Linked DNA regions of Homo sapiens: region 1 is linked to region 2. Evidence: promoter capture Hi-C in 16 types of primary human blood cells and fetal thymus (Javierre and others, 2016). All regions are on one chromosome and are shown on one strand. The core of a region is centred on a gene start or on the middle of the fragment in contact, and the rest is flanking DNA. Distances in the headings are between cores, read along the strand shown.

Region 1 (7,077 bases), core at 1,988-4,487, 270 kb after region 2:
CATGGTTATGCACAGTTAGGATCCTCCACAGTTTTATCACCCCAAAGATGGAGTTCTTTCTTAGATGTAACTTAATTTGATTTAATTTAATTTTCTTAGGTGTAATTGAAGATCTCTTTAATTTCCTCCCTCTTATTTAATCTGGATTTAATGCTCTCTTTATAAGTCTCTTAGTCATCTTTTTGGTCAAGGCTGAATCACTCCAACTTCTTGATTACCCTTCTCCTTTATGTCCCAATATTCATCCCTTTGATGGTCCATGTCACTCTTATTGGGACACTCTCGTTTTCTCACGCCCTTTAAAAGATAACTGGAAATCAACAAAGGAATCGAGGTGTCAGAACTGAAATATTGCAATAAACAAAACTCTAGTCTGAAGTGAATGGAGTCTGCTTTGACCCTGGCAAGTTAAAAATCATTGTCATGTTCCTTAATCTACAAGGTTTTGTCAAATTTCTTTGGGCTTCAAGTCACATCAGTTCCTAGGCTGACTGCAGGAGTACCCCACCCTCCCATCCTTAGGACCAGGCTAAGAGAGAAATTTGGTTAATCTCTGCATCCTCCACCTGCAGCAACCTGACTGCAGTAATATTTCTGGGTGCAGCTCCAGACATTATTTCAGACACCAACCCACCTCCAATTTAATAGAGGCTCATTGACTCCTAATCAGCAGACTTGCTTTACTATGTTTCTATTTCTAATAATCGTGATTATTGATACTAATGATGACAAAAGCAAGCACTCACTAAATTTAAATTGTGCCTGGCAGGGTTCCATGTGCTTTACATGGTTCTGGTGAAACTGACAACCCTATGAGGTAAGTACAATTATAATTCCGTTTTATAGAGATGAAACAAGAGACTTGGGACTCTCCCAAGATTATACTGCCAGGAAGCAACAGAGATAGGATTTGAACTTGGAAATGCTCGTGTTCCAACGTCTTAATCATTATGCTATGCTATATGTGGTACAGCATGGAAATATTTGGGATTACTAAAATGTTTCTTTTTTTCTTTCTTTCTTTTCTTTTTTTTTTTTTAAGACAATGTCTCACTCTGTTGCCTAGGCTGGAGTGTAGCAGTGCAATCATGGCTCATTGCAGCCTCAGCCTTCTGAGGTTCATGCGATCCTCCCACTTCAGCATGAGCAGCTGGGACTACAGGCACGCACTGCCACACCCAGCTAGTTTTCATATTTTTAGTAGAGACAGAGTTTCAACATGTTACTCAGGCTGGTTTCAAACTCCTGGGCTCAAGTGATCCGCCTGCCTTGGCCTCCCAAAGTGCCAGGATTACAAACACGAGCCTACCACGCCCAGCCTGAAATCACTAAAATATTGTTTGATCTAAATGCATTGTTTTGAATGTTAGGTTGCTAGTGATTAAGGCTCTTCTAGCTCCATTTGGCTAGTGTAGGGAGACATCTGGTGGCCATTCTGTTTTTTAAAACTTTTTTTATGGAAAACTTCAAATTTATGCAAAGTAAACAGAATAGTATCATAAATCCCCCTCTACCCACCACCTAGCTTTAACAATTAACATTCTGCCATTCCGTTTATATTCATACCTCCAGCCAATCCCTACCTCTTCCCCACTTATTTTTTACGGTTGTTTTTCAAAAATAAAATTTACATATAGTGAAATGCACACAATTTTAACAGTTTATCTTGACCGATAGATATACTCATGTAACCCACAGCCCTATCATGATATGGAATGTTTTCATCACTCCAAAAATGTCATTTGCCTGACAACTCCTCAACTAGGCAACAATTGTTCTGATTTTTCACTGTGGATTAGTTTTGCTTGTCCCAGTGTGCCATATCAATGGAATCCTACAGTACGACTCTTTTGTGTCTGGGCTCTTTCACTCAGCATAATGTCTGTGAGAGTCATCCATGCTCTTGCGTGTACCCGTTATTTCTCTTTTATTGCTGTCCTCCTTCTATTGTACAGATGGGCCACAGCCATTCTCCAGTTGATGGGGATTTGGATTGTTTCCAGTTAGGGGCCGTTCTGAATAAAGTTGAGCATGAGTTGAACTTCATGTTCAAGTCTTTTTGTAGACATATGTTTACATTTCTCTTGTGTAAATACTTAGGAGTGGAATCGCTGGATCAAAGAATAGAGGCATGGTTAACTTCATTAGAAACTGCCAGATCTTTTTCCCAAAGTGATTCTCTTTGCATTCCTACCAGAAGTGCGAGAGAATTCTGTCTGCTCCGCATCCTCACCAGTATTTGGTGTTGTCAGTGTTTTTAATTTTAACTATTGTGGTGGTATCTCATTGTGGTTTTAATTTGTGTTTCCCTGATGACTAACAATGTTGACCATTTTTCTATGTGTGTATTGCCAATTTGTCTATCTTCCTTTGTGAAGTGTCTATTCAAGTCTTTTGCCAAATTTTCATTGGGTTTGTCTTTTTATTATTGGACTGTAGGTGTCTTTTATTCTGGATACAAATTCTTTGCGTCTGTATAATTTAGGAATATTTTCTGCTGTTCTGTGACTTGCCTATTTTCTTAACAGTGTCTTCTAATGAGAAGCTTTATATTTGGTGAAGTCTGATTTCTTATTTTGTGTCTTTTATTATTATTTCTTCCTGGCTCTCATCTAAGAAAACTTTGCCTTCCCCTGGTTACAAAGATGGTCCCCTTGTTTACTTCCAGTAGCTTTATATAGATTTTAAATTTGCATTTAGGTCTAAGATGCATCTCAAGTTCGTGTGTGTGTGTGTGTGTGTGTGTGTGTGTGTGTGTGTGTGTGTGTAGTGTAGTGTAATGTAATATAGGGACTGAAATGCATTTTTACTTTCTTTTTCTATTTATATATTTTTAAGTAGAGATGGGAATCTCCCTGTGTTGCCCAGGCTGGTCTCCAACTCCTGGCTTTAGACAATCCTCCTGCCTCAGCATCCCAGTGTGCTGGGATCACAGCTGTGAGCCACCACACACAACTGCAATTTTTTTTCTTTATAAATATCTAGTTGTTCCTGCACCATTGGATGGAAATGTTTTCCATTTCTGTGCTGAATTGTTTTGGGACCTCTACTGAAAATCAATTGAGACGCAGTCTTATTAAACACAGTCTTATTCTAGCTTTGTTTTTCTTTTGCAAGGTTAATTTGGCTATGCTAGGACCTTTGCATATCCATATGTACCAGTTGTCAATTTATTGCCTCTCAGATCCAAATTCACCCTTCATTACCTGCTGAGCAATAACCAACTGCACGCTTTAGGCATTTCTCCTTAAAGTGAACACAATGTCATTTTTGTCACTAGAGGGCACTGGAGGGACATTGCAAAGGCAGGCCGCTTCTCTTCCTGATGTCCTTTGCTATGTTTTGCTTTTTCTTGTTTTCAGACTGTACATTCTGCTGCACGTGGTATGTGGGGGGGACACACACTAACCGTGTGCCCAGAGCACATAGTCTCTCAGTGACCTCACAGCTCTGGCCAAGGGCCTGGTGACCACTTTGTCACAGCCCTCCTGATGCAGACATTACACACTCCAGGCTTCATACCTACTCCTGTTCCCTCTCCCAACGCACACCTGCCCTCTGGCCGCAGCTTGCCTGAGCCCTGGAAGGTTGATTTCCTTGGCCCCCTCCATGGTCTCCCATCCAGCAGCGCGGGTGCTCAGGAAGGTCATGCCTGGTGCCTGCCCAGTGACCGAACCAGCTCTGGCCCTGGTATCCTGGTGAGATTCTTTGCCATCCAATGGGCTGTAGCCACACCTTCTCCAGTGACATCTGAAGCCCATCCTTGGAGAGGAACACTCCAAGTTTGTCCTTCCTTAAATATTCCTCTGTAGCAAGAATTTCCCTTTCTGGCCCAAACTCCTCACCACCCATGTGAGAATTACAAAGTGAGTTTACACAATTAACACTTATTGAAATAAAGAAAAATTAATTTTAAAAAAAGAAAAAATTCAAGCTTGACTAATCAACATAAAGGAAACATTAATTTAAAAAAAACATTTATTGAGTCCATGGTTGTCAGGAAAGCAAGTCTGGGTATGTTGTCTAGGTTCATTTTCTGGCTGCGTCTTTTGGCAGATTTTGGGCGTGGCTTATGACATTCCTATGCCTCAGTTTTCTCATCTGTAGAATGGGCATCATAATAGTATTTCATAGGGTCAGAATGAAGATCAAATGAAACAGTATAAGTCAAGTGTTTAGAATAGTACCTAGCAGTAAATACTTGGTTCCTATCAGCTGCTGCTATTCCTATTTTTTATGATTATGATCTTGTATCCCCAACCATATTGTAAACTCTAAGTGAAGACGGCATAATTTAATGCTGGCTCTCTACTATCCCAGGGTTTAGCATCTTGTTATTTCCATGCATTAGACGTGTAATAGATATTACCAAATAGATGAGCTGCTGAAGAATGTTCTATTTCCCGTAGAAAGAAGACGTGAGGAGGAAACACATCCGTCTGCACATGGAAGGGGCGCTGACTGCCCGGGACAAGGTCGGGGTTCAGGATTTTGTGCTATTGGACGCGTACACCAGCGAATCTGCCTTTGTCGACAACCTCCGCAAGCGTTTCAGCGAGAACCTCATATACGTAACGTGACCCACTTCTCAGCTGTTTTTCTAGGGTGGTTGTTCCCTTCTTGCCTTCACGACTTTGATGAGTGTGAATAATAGCACTCTATTAGGTTAGACATTAAAGGGAGATACTGAGGCGCCACTCTTAGATGCACTTCGATCCTTTGTGCTAAGACGTTTATGGCTGCCCGTGACAGAGACCCAACTTACACCAGCCTAAGTCACTAAAAGGAATCTGTCCATGTCTGTTACTGTAGGTCCCGGGACTAGATCTAGGGTTTCAGACAATGTCTGGCAACTCCTTCTCAATCTCTGCTCTGCTTTCTTAGGCATCCATTTCTTTCTCAAGTGCATGGCAGCAAGATGGCTGCCCTCAGATCCAGGCTGTCATTTTATCAGCTCAGGGTTGCTGCAGAGAAGCGAGCCAATACTCTGGGGATAAGCTCTAGTAAATGGCCCAAGTTGACATTGATCAGCTCTGATTGGCCCACTTTCGGTCATGTGCCTGTCTCTGAACCAATCCCATGGCTAGAAATGAAGACTATTCTGATTGGCCAGGCTCTTACCAGGCCTGCCCCTGAAGGTGAGGGGTGGAGTTGGAGCCCTGGACGGTATAGGCAGAGAGCTGGGGAAGAGGGTTCCCCAAAGGACTCTGTTGGGAGAAAGGGGCAGAGATACCAAGCAGGCAAAAATAAGAGCTGTCCACCACACCCCACGAATGGTCAAGGGTCGAGAATGCAGCACTTACCAAACTCTTCTCAGATTGATCTTGTCACATCTAGTTTTTATTCAAAAGCTAGTTTTCGTTAAATTCCCATTTATCACCATACTCTGATTTGAGGGTCGTTTTTCAGGTAAATTCCTCTAGGGTAAACTTCATAGTGTCCCTGTGTGTGTCGTGGGTGTTATTAAAATTATTTAATTTTTTGAGATTTTATTAGCTTTTTGCTAAGAGTAAATTAGACAGAAGTGGTTTAAAAATAATTGTCTTATAGCTATTTTGTTTGTAATGCTGCTCGTGACTTAATCTATATGTTGAAACCAAGGATACCAGAAGAAGTAAACAAGGTGTTTCTTAGAGTACATATCCTAGAGCCTAACTTTCATAATTATCACCCTTAATTGTAGAAATAGAAAAACTAATTTTATGTACAGGAAAAGGAAAAAATAGCATGGTACAGAGAAGTACAAATGGCATGACAGGATCATTGCGATTAAGCTAAATGTTTCTGATTTGAACGGATACATTTCAGAAACTGTCTTCCACCCTGAATTTCTACTGATTGAAGTAATATGGGGTTTTATTGAAACTTCTCTGCTTTGGTTCTCTGTTTGATTTTTGTCCTGGAGATTGGAGAACGATTTTAGCGTAATCTTTTTTTCTTTTTTTTTTTTTTGAGTTGGGTCTTGCTAAGTTGCCCAGGCTAGTCTTGAACTCCTGGGTTCAAGCACTCCTCCTGCCTCAGCCTCCCACGTAGCTGGGATTACAGGCACACACCACCACACCCAGCTATTTTAGCATAATCTTAATATATACTTTAGTGCATCCTGTATTTGAAACAGCTACACACTGAGAATCTGAGAATACCAGATGTATTTTCCAAGGAGTATATTAATTTTTTTTCTATATAAGAGCTTGGAGCTCTTTGTTTATTCATAATTGTATTTCAAAAGCCTATGTTAGTGGTTATATTATAAATATAAGTAAGTACTTGAAAAACTTGAATATGAGTAGAATTTAATGTTGAAATCTAGGAATATAAGTGCCAGTAGCGGGAGTGTTTTGCCCAATTTTAGGAGGTTTGTAGGTATACCCATCCTGTTTTCTTGTTTGTTTGTTTTTTTTTTCTTTTTCATATGGAGTCTCACTCTGTCGCCCAGGCTGGGGTGCAGTGGCCCCGATCTTGGCTCACTGCAACCTCCGCCACCCGGGTTCAAGCAATTCTCCTGCCTCAGCCTCCCAAGTAGCTGGGATTACAGGCATCCGCCACCACGCCTGGCTAATTTTTTTGTATTTTTAGTAGAGATGGGGTTTCATCATGTTGGCCAGGCTGGTCTCAAACTCCTGACCTTGGGTGATCCACCTGCCTCAGCCTCCCAGAGTCCTGGGATTACTGTGCCCGGCCCACCCATCCTACTTTCACTCAATGCCAGAGAGACCTTTAAGAACCATAAATCAGGTTTACGTGCTCCCCTCTTAAAGTTGTCCATTCATGTGTAATAGTTTAGGGAGGTATTTCTCTTTTTTTGTATCTTCAACTTTTAACTTCAGGGGTACATGTGCAGGATGTGCAGGTTTGTTACATAGGTAAACGTGCTGTGGTGGTTTGCTGCACAGATCATCCCATCACCAAGGTATTAAGACCAGCATGCATTAGCTATTCTTCCTGATGCTCTCTGTCCCCCGCAACAAGCCCCAATGGGTGTTGTTCCCCCCTCTCCCACAAATGTGTCCATGTGTCCTCATCATTTAGTTCCCACTTATTAGCAAGAACACGCAGTGTTTGGTTTTCTGTTCCTGC
Region 2 (7,081 bases), core at 2,703-5,202:
GCACCATTGCACTCCAGACTGGGCAACAAGAGCATAAGAGCAAAACTCCGTCTCAAAAAAAAAAAAAAAAAAAAACCAACCAGGCAACTCATTTTGATGAACTCTTAGCTATGTGGTAGTTGCTTTTTTCATGTGTCAAGTCTGCTATATTCCTGCACTCAGTATGCAAAGATGCATAAAAGGCAGTCTTAGCCTTTTAGGTCAGCGGTTGGCAAACTTTCTGTGAAGGGTCAGGTGGTAAATATTTGAGGGTTTGCAGTTACCCGTTCTCCGTGGGAACTGCTCAACAACTCACTGCAGAGAAAGCAGCCGTGGGCAAAACGTACAGGAACGGGCGAGGCTGTGTTCCAATAAAACTTTATTATTTATGGACACTGAAATTAGATTTTAATATGATTTTCATGTGTCACGAAATCTTTTTTTTTCCTAAGCATTTAACAAATGTAAAAACCACTCCTAGCTTGGGAGCTATTGGAAAACAGGCATCTGGAACCACAGTCTGCAGACCCCTGTGTGTACTCACTGTCAGTGCGGTGGGAACAAAAAGGCAGCAACGGCTGGGTCAGCCCAGGAAAGAAGACATTTCCCAGTGGAGAGAATGTCTGAGTGGATATTGAACTTTCCAGGCCACAAAGAGGAACAAGAGCATTCAACACTGAGGAGCCTGCCTCTGCAAAGGCAGGACCCACATGCTGGATGTGGAGCTGGATGGTTCCACGTGGCAAGGTTTGGGAGGCTTCTGAGAACCTGGCCTAATGATTCCTGTTTCCTCCCTTTTCAGGTGAGTTAGGGAGATCTCTGACAGCTTTTGGAATTGGTAACACAAGGAAGTCAGTTATTAGCAAATGTTGTACTGGAAACGTCCAGTTATAAAATAATTAATTGTGTGAAAGTCACTGCCTGCTTTTGATCTACATCCAGCAGGGGAAGGTCAGGGACTATAAATTGTTTGCATTTTTTAAAGATAGACTTTAGCATGTTGCTAGTATGCTTGCATTATTAGATAATACATCTCTGTTCAAATTCACTTTCTGCTTCAGTTTGCTTCTCATATAAAAGTCTTCGCAAGTATGTTTGGTGGAGAAGCAAACTTTTTGGCGTATGCGTGTGGTGTTGGCTTTTCATCCTTGCCAAACCTTCAAGATTTGCAAGGAAAAACAGGTTGCAGGGAGGTGCTCTGGGTTACTTTGAAAAGACCTCACATGCTGACTTGTGCTGACTCAAGCTGAGGAAAGCTAGAACATTCCTCTGCTGGAGATGGCCTCCTTGTTTAGAGTCCTTCTGACACTGTAATTTGGGTCTGACAACAGGAAGTTCCTTTGTAGTTTAAGTCAATGGGAACCAATTTTTTTTTCTTTTTTTTGCGATAGAGTCTCACTCTGTTTCTTAAGATGGAGTACAGTGACTCAGTCATGGCTCACTGCAGCCTCAACTTCCTGGGTTCAGGTGATCCTCCTGCCTCAGCCTCCTGAGCAGCTGGGACCACTGGTATGCACCACCATACCTGGCTAAGTTTTTAATAGAAATGGGGTCTTGCTAAGTTGCCCAGGCTAGGGAACCAGTTTTTAAGTTTTTGAAATATGCTTGGAAATATAAATATTGGTGAGCGGAGCAGACCAGGAGATCAATAATTTATGTTCTCTGCTTGTTAGTTGTGTATATAGCATGTTCTTTTGTCTCTCTTAATGATGTTTGGGGTGAGGGTGTGGGAGAGGAAGGTAGGGAGCCTTCCAACAAGAAGCTAGTGCTCCTCCAGCCTAGAGAAGCTAAAACATGCAAAGCCAGACCCCATCCCTGGAAATTCTGATTTAATTGGTGGGGGAAGGCATGTGAATTCTCACAGAGGGTCCGGTTTGCAGCAGGACTGGTGATTTCTTTCCAGGTGCCTTGTTTTGTTAGACCATGTGGTCACTTAATAATTTTTTTTGGGCCAGGTACAGTGGCTCATACCTGTAATCCCAGTGCTTTAGGAGGCAAGGCAAGAAGATCGCTTTAGGCCAGGAGTTCAAGACCAACTTGGGCAACATAATGAGACCTTGTCTTTAAAAAAAAAAAATTTTTTTTTTTTTAATTAGCCAGGGGTGGTGTGTGCCTGTAGTTCTAGCTACTTGGGAAGCTGAGGCAGGAGGATCATTTGAGCCCAGGAGTTCGAGGCTGCAGTGAGCTATGATCATGCCACTGCACTCCATCCAGCCTGGGCAACAGAGCAAGATCCTATTTCTAAAACAAAACAAAACAAAACAAAAAATGTAACTTGATACCTGTGACTTTCTGAAACTAACAGCTGTTTGAAGAAATATATTTCTATTACCGTTCTTGTGTTTGATGGAAAGAGTTTATGAATAACTTTGGTTTCAAGCCTTCCAATTATATTCTGGAAAATACCTGTGTCTTAAAGAGATAGTGTCTAGGGAGAACTGAATCACTGCAGAGTTCTTCACCTGTATGTGTGGGTATGTCTAGTCTTTTTGCAAGTAATGAATTTCATTAGAAAGATATTAAGTGCTTGTCATGAGCAAGCCCCTGTGCCAGAAACTCAATATAAATCATTTCATTTTCTCACCCATATGGTGAAGTAGTTGATGAGGACACTGAAGCTCAGCCATTTGCTCAAAGTCATGGCTAATGGAGGGAGGATTCAAACCCACATCAGCTTGATTTCAAAGCCTAATAGTCCTGCCACTGTCAACACCCTGCCTAGATCATGATTATTTGGAATCACTGGGAAAGAATTTTTTTTTCATGAAGTTAGAAGCCTAAGAATTTTTTTCAATGGAATTTTATAAAAATGTCCTTGAATCACAGATGGCTCTCCCTGGAAACATAGGTTTGTTTGAGAGTCACCTCTTTTATTGTCTTAATAAATAGACTAAGAGCCATCACAAGGGCTACTGTGGCTAGAGAACATATGACTCGGGCCGGGCATTGTGCAGGCATTTGACCTGCATTCCTTCACCCCGGTTCCTGTAACATGTACCTGGTGCTGTGGGGTTACAGCTGATAATGCTGAGGTTTCCAGAGCACATGCTTCCAAGTCCAGTGGAGAAAATCCCAAGAAGTCCAATATTCAATGACTGTTCCTTATTGCAAAATAAGCCCAGAAACAAAGTAGCTGTGAACAGGCTGCACCAGCCCCAGCAGCAATTTCCATTTAAACCATTTTGCACAGATCCCGTGCTCAGCGCTCTCGCCAGTTTCTCCACTTGCTGTTTAGTAAGGCCATCATTGTTGGCAGGAAGTGGGTTCCACCTTCCCTGTTGCCTGAGCACAATGTGCTCCTATGTGGTCTCCACTTTCCTGCTGCCTAGTTGGCTGGGCTTCTCCAGCTGGGCCTTGGAGGCGACCTTTGTCCCACATGCCAGCCCTCCCCACGTTGCAGAACACTATGTAACTGCAGCGTGTGCTGAATTTCCTCTTCTGTGCTCAACCCTAGCAAGAGCCAGTCAACCCTGAATGAGAATGTGGCAATGGAGCTGTTTTTTTCTTTTATCCCCAAGTCACAAGAAATTGGAAACATTCCATTAAGTGGCGTGATTTGAGAGGGTTTCGCCAAATCTTTTCAGGGGAGAGAAGCCAGGTGACCTGATAGCGATCACCTTCCCATTCACGGTTTTCAATGGGGGCTTGTTTCTCAAATGACCAACACCTGTAGGCAGTTAATTTTCAGCATGTCACAGGAGGGCCCAGATGACTTTCTGCCTACTGCTTACGACAACATGGACTTTAGATGCCTCATGGCTTCAACAGCTAAGAATTATGAAATAAAGCGAGTTATGGGATTAAAAGGCAGATAGCAGAACTCTCCCAGGAGTAGCCAGGGCTGCACAAGTGGTTTGACGTGGGATCTTTCTCATCTTTGCCCCGGGTTGTTGCTGCTTTGAAGGTTAAGTGCTCCAGGGATATTTTTAAACAGCAGGGGCTGATTAATCTAAAAGTGACATTTGCAGTCCCCAGAGTAAGCAGCTAGCAGGCTTAGATTCAGGCCCTCAGCAAACAAGGAACCTGGAAAATGTAACCCTGAATGCACGGTGGGGAGGACATGGCAAGAGAAAAGCGGCAGGAATAAAGTGGTAAGTCAGCTCGCCCCTCCCCGGGGTCCGGACCATTCTGCCAACGTCCAGGTAAATTCGAACCCAATGTATAGTGAGAGCAGACCCTGTCTGAAGGCATGCACTTGGGGTCCCCGGGGAAAAACGACTCCCGTCATGTTTGAAGGAAGCTAATCAGAAGAGCTCGAAATGTAACGCAGATGAAAGAGAAGGGCCTTTCTTTGCTTCTATAAATGGTGGTGTGGATCCCTGGACATGCTCCCATATAAGTTCCACAACGTTTTATAAACAATTCTGTTTTTTGCCTCCAAAGCTACTGTCTTAAGGAATAGTATTCTGTTTCTGTTTCCTCAAATGGTTGTTCTTTTTTTTTTTTTTTTTTTTTTTAAAGCAGACTAAGGCTGGGCACGGTGGCTCATGCCACCCAGCACCTTGGGAGGCAGAGGCAGGTGGATCACTTGAGGTCAGGAGTTCGAGACCAGCCTGGCCAACATGGCGAAACCCCATCTGTACTAAACACATAAAAATTAGCCAGATGTGGTGATGGGCACCTGTAATCCCAGCTACTTGGGAGGCTGAGGCAGGAGAATCGCTTGAACCCAGGAGGTGGGGGTTGCAGTGAGCTAAAATTGCGCCACTGCATTCCAGCCTGACTGACAGAGCAAGACTCTGTCTCAAAAAAAAAAAAAAAGAAAAGAAAAAGAAAAAAAGGAGACTAAGAGTAAAGCGTTTGTAGTGGTCCTATATCCTATATTTCTAGGAAGACATGACTTTCTTTCAATGTTGAAAAAATGCATTCCAAAATAATATGCAAGTTAAAAAGTCACTCAGCACCGTGCAAAAGTCTCCTTGCTGTTATTCCTGTCTAACCCTCCTCCTCCAGGTAGCCACTGTGCACATTTTGGTATAAACCCCCCAGACCTTTTATTCTGTACACTCACACTGTACACAACTCTCTCCCTCATGTCTATTGTGATTACTTTTATTTTTTAATATCAATGGGCATCCATATAGGTTGGGTGACCAACCATCCCACTTTGCCCAGGACCGGGGAATTCCCGGGACATGGGACTTGCAATTTAAAAACTGAAAGGTGAAGATATTATTATTATCATTATTATTTGAGATGGAGTGCTCACTGCAAGCTCCGCCTCCTGGGTTCACGCCATTCTCCTGCCTCAGCCTCCCAAGTAGCTGGGACTACAGGCACCCACTACCACGCCCGGCTAATTTTTTTTGTATTTTTAGTAGAGACAGGGTTTCACTGTGTTAGCCAGGATGGTCTCGATCTCCTGACCTCAAGTGATCCGCCCGCCTCGGCCTCCCAGAGTGCTGGGATTACAGGCATGAGCCACCGCGCCTGGCCAAAGATATCATTTTATAAATTGCATGTTTCTGCTAATAGTGACATGGAGTTCTTTACAAGATTTCTTTTTATGACTTCTCCAAGTTTTAAGTGGAAAGACCCAGCCAATCCTAATTCATGTGATTTAGAGATGAAAATATCTCTAATCTGTAACTTTCTTTCAGAAGCTCTTAAGAGTTTTATTTGCTCCTGCTCAGGTGTTGTGTAAACTCGCTCATACTTTCAACACCTTTAGGTCTGAGACAGAAATTTGAGTATTACATTACATGAGATACCCAGTCTTCATGGGGAAATAAACATTTTAATCTTTTGAAATGGAGGTTTCCTTGAAGTCTTATCCCAGTAGAAACTTTGACCTTGTTCTTTTTTTTTTTTTTTTTTTGAGACAGAGTCTCGTCCTGTCACCCAGGCTGGAGTGCGATGGCACAATCTCAGCTCACTGCAACCCCTGCCTCCCAGGTTCAAGCAATTCCTCAGTCTCAGTCTCCCGAGTAGCTGGGATTGCAGGCAAGCACTACCACGCCCAGCTAATTTTTGTATTTTTAGTAGAGATGGGGTTTTGCCATGTTGGCCAGGCTGGTCTCGAACTCCTGACCTCAAGTGATCTGCTCACCTTGGCCTCCCAAAGTGCTGGGATTACGGGCATGAGCCACTGCACCCGGCCTGGAATACCTTGTTCTCATGCTTCCTCTGAATTTGTGATTCAGTGACTTGTTACTTCAAAGTAGAGTTCACCTGTACCCAGGGAAACCAGGAAACAGAGTTAGAAATATTGCATTTGATCGGAAAAATGTATGCACATTTCACATCCTATCCTAATAGATCTCTCTGTTTGCAGTGATAATAGTAAATTTATGACCGTAGAGTAAGGTGATTTTCTAGGAAGATAGACCGTGTTCATTTATTCCAGGAATCCAGGGATCCTTGTATCAGAGAATCCAGGCTGGGCACAGCAGAGAAACCAAGGTATTGATTATTGGGTAGTTGGCATACCCCAGGTATGCCATAATAATTATGGGATCTCACATAATTTTGAGGACAATCCTAGGAAGGAGATTTTATTTATTCCATTCCACAGGCCAGGAAACCAAGGTTCAGAGAATTTCCATGATGGGCTCAGGCCAATCAGATAACAAATGGCAAAGCCTCCACCCAAGTCTGCTGTACTCCAGAAGTCCTGCTCTCTGGGCTCATACCTTAGCCACTCTGACCCTTGCTGGGGCCCCAGAAAACAACTACACATAGAAAAGGTCTCTTCAGGCCAGACACAGTGGCTCACGCCTGTAATCCCAGCACTTTGGGAGGCTGAGGAGCTAGATCACTTGAGGTCAGGAGTTTGAGACCAACCTGGCCAACATGGTGAAACCCTTTCTCTACTAAAAATACAAAAATTAGCTGGGTGTGGTGGCTAGTGCCTGTAAACCCAGCGACTTGGGAGGCTGAGGTAGGAGAATCACTTGAACACAGGAGGTGGAGCTTGCCGTGAACCGAGATGGTGCCACCGCACTCCAGCCTGGGCAACAGAGCAAGACTCTGTCTCAAAAAAAAAAAAAAAATGATTTTGAGACAGGGCTGGGTGGCTCACGCCTATAATCCCAGCACTTTGGGAGGCTGAGGCAGGCAGATCACTTGAGGTCAGGAGTTCAAGGCCAGCCTGACCAACATG

Evidence for each region. Contacts are between HindIII fragments. The CHiCAGO score rates a contact against its expected background, and 5 or more counts as called.
Region 1: a fragment that was not itself captured here is called in contact with the fragment with the promoter of ACACB in region 2 in 2 of 17 cell types (M0 macrophages and endothelial precursors); the score reaches 6.9 in M0 macrophages.

What each region holds. Positions count from the first base shown.
Region 1 is chr12:109,384,274-109,391,350 of GRCh38, forward strand. MYO1H (myosin IH) reads left to right here. Exons shown (of 32, transcript NM_001101421.4): 2 at 4,410-4,571. Among named protein-coding and RNA genes, the nearest start is that of LINC01486, 28 kb to the left of the region's middle. The HindIII fragment of the contact is 1,389 bases long and covers 2,544-3,932 here.
Region 2 is chr12:109,112,635-109,119,715 of GRCh38, forward strand. ACACB (acetyl-CoA carboxylase beta) reads left to right here and starts at 3,953. Exons shown (of 53, transcript NM_001093.4): 1 at 3,953-4,070. It overlaps LOC105369974 (a long non-coding RNA gene), which reads right to left. Exons shown (of 3, transcript XR_945332.3): 3 at 6,020-6,150. The HindIII fragment of the contact is 11,769 bases long and covers 1-7,081 here.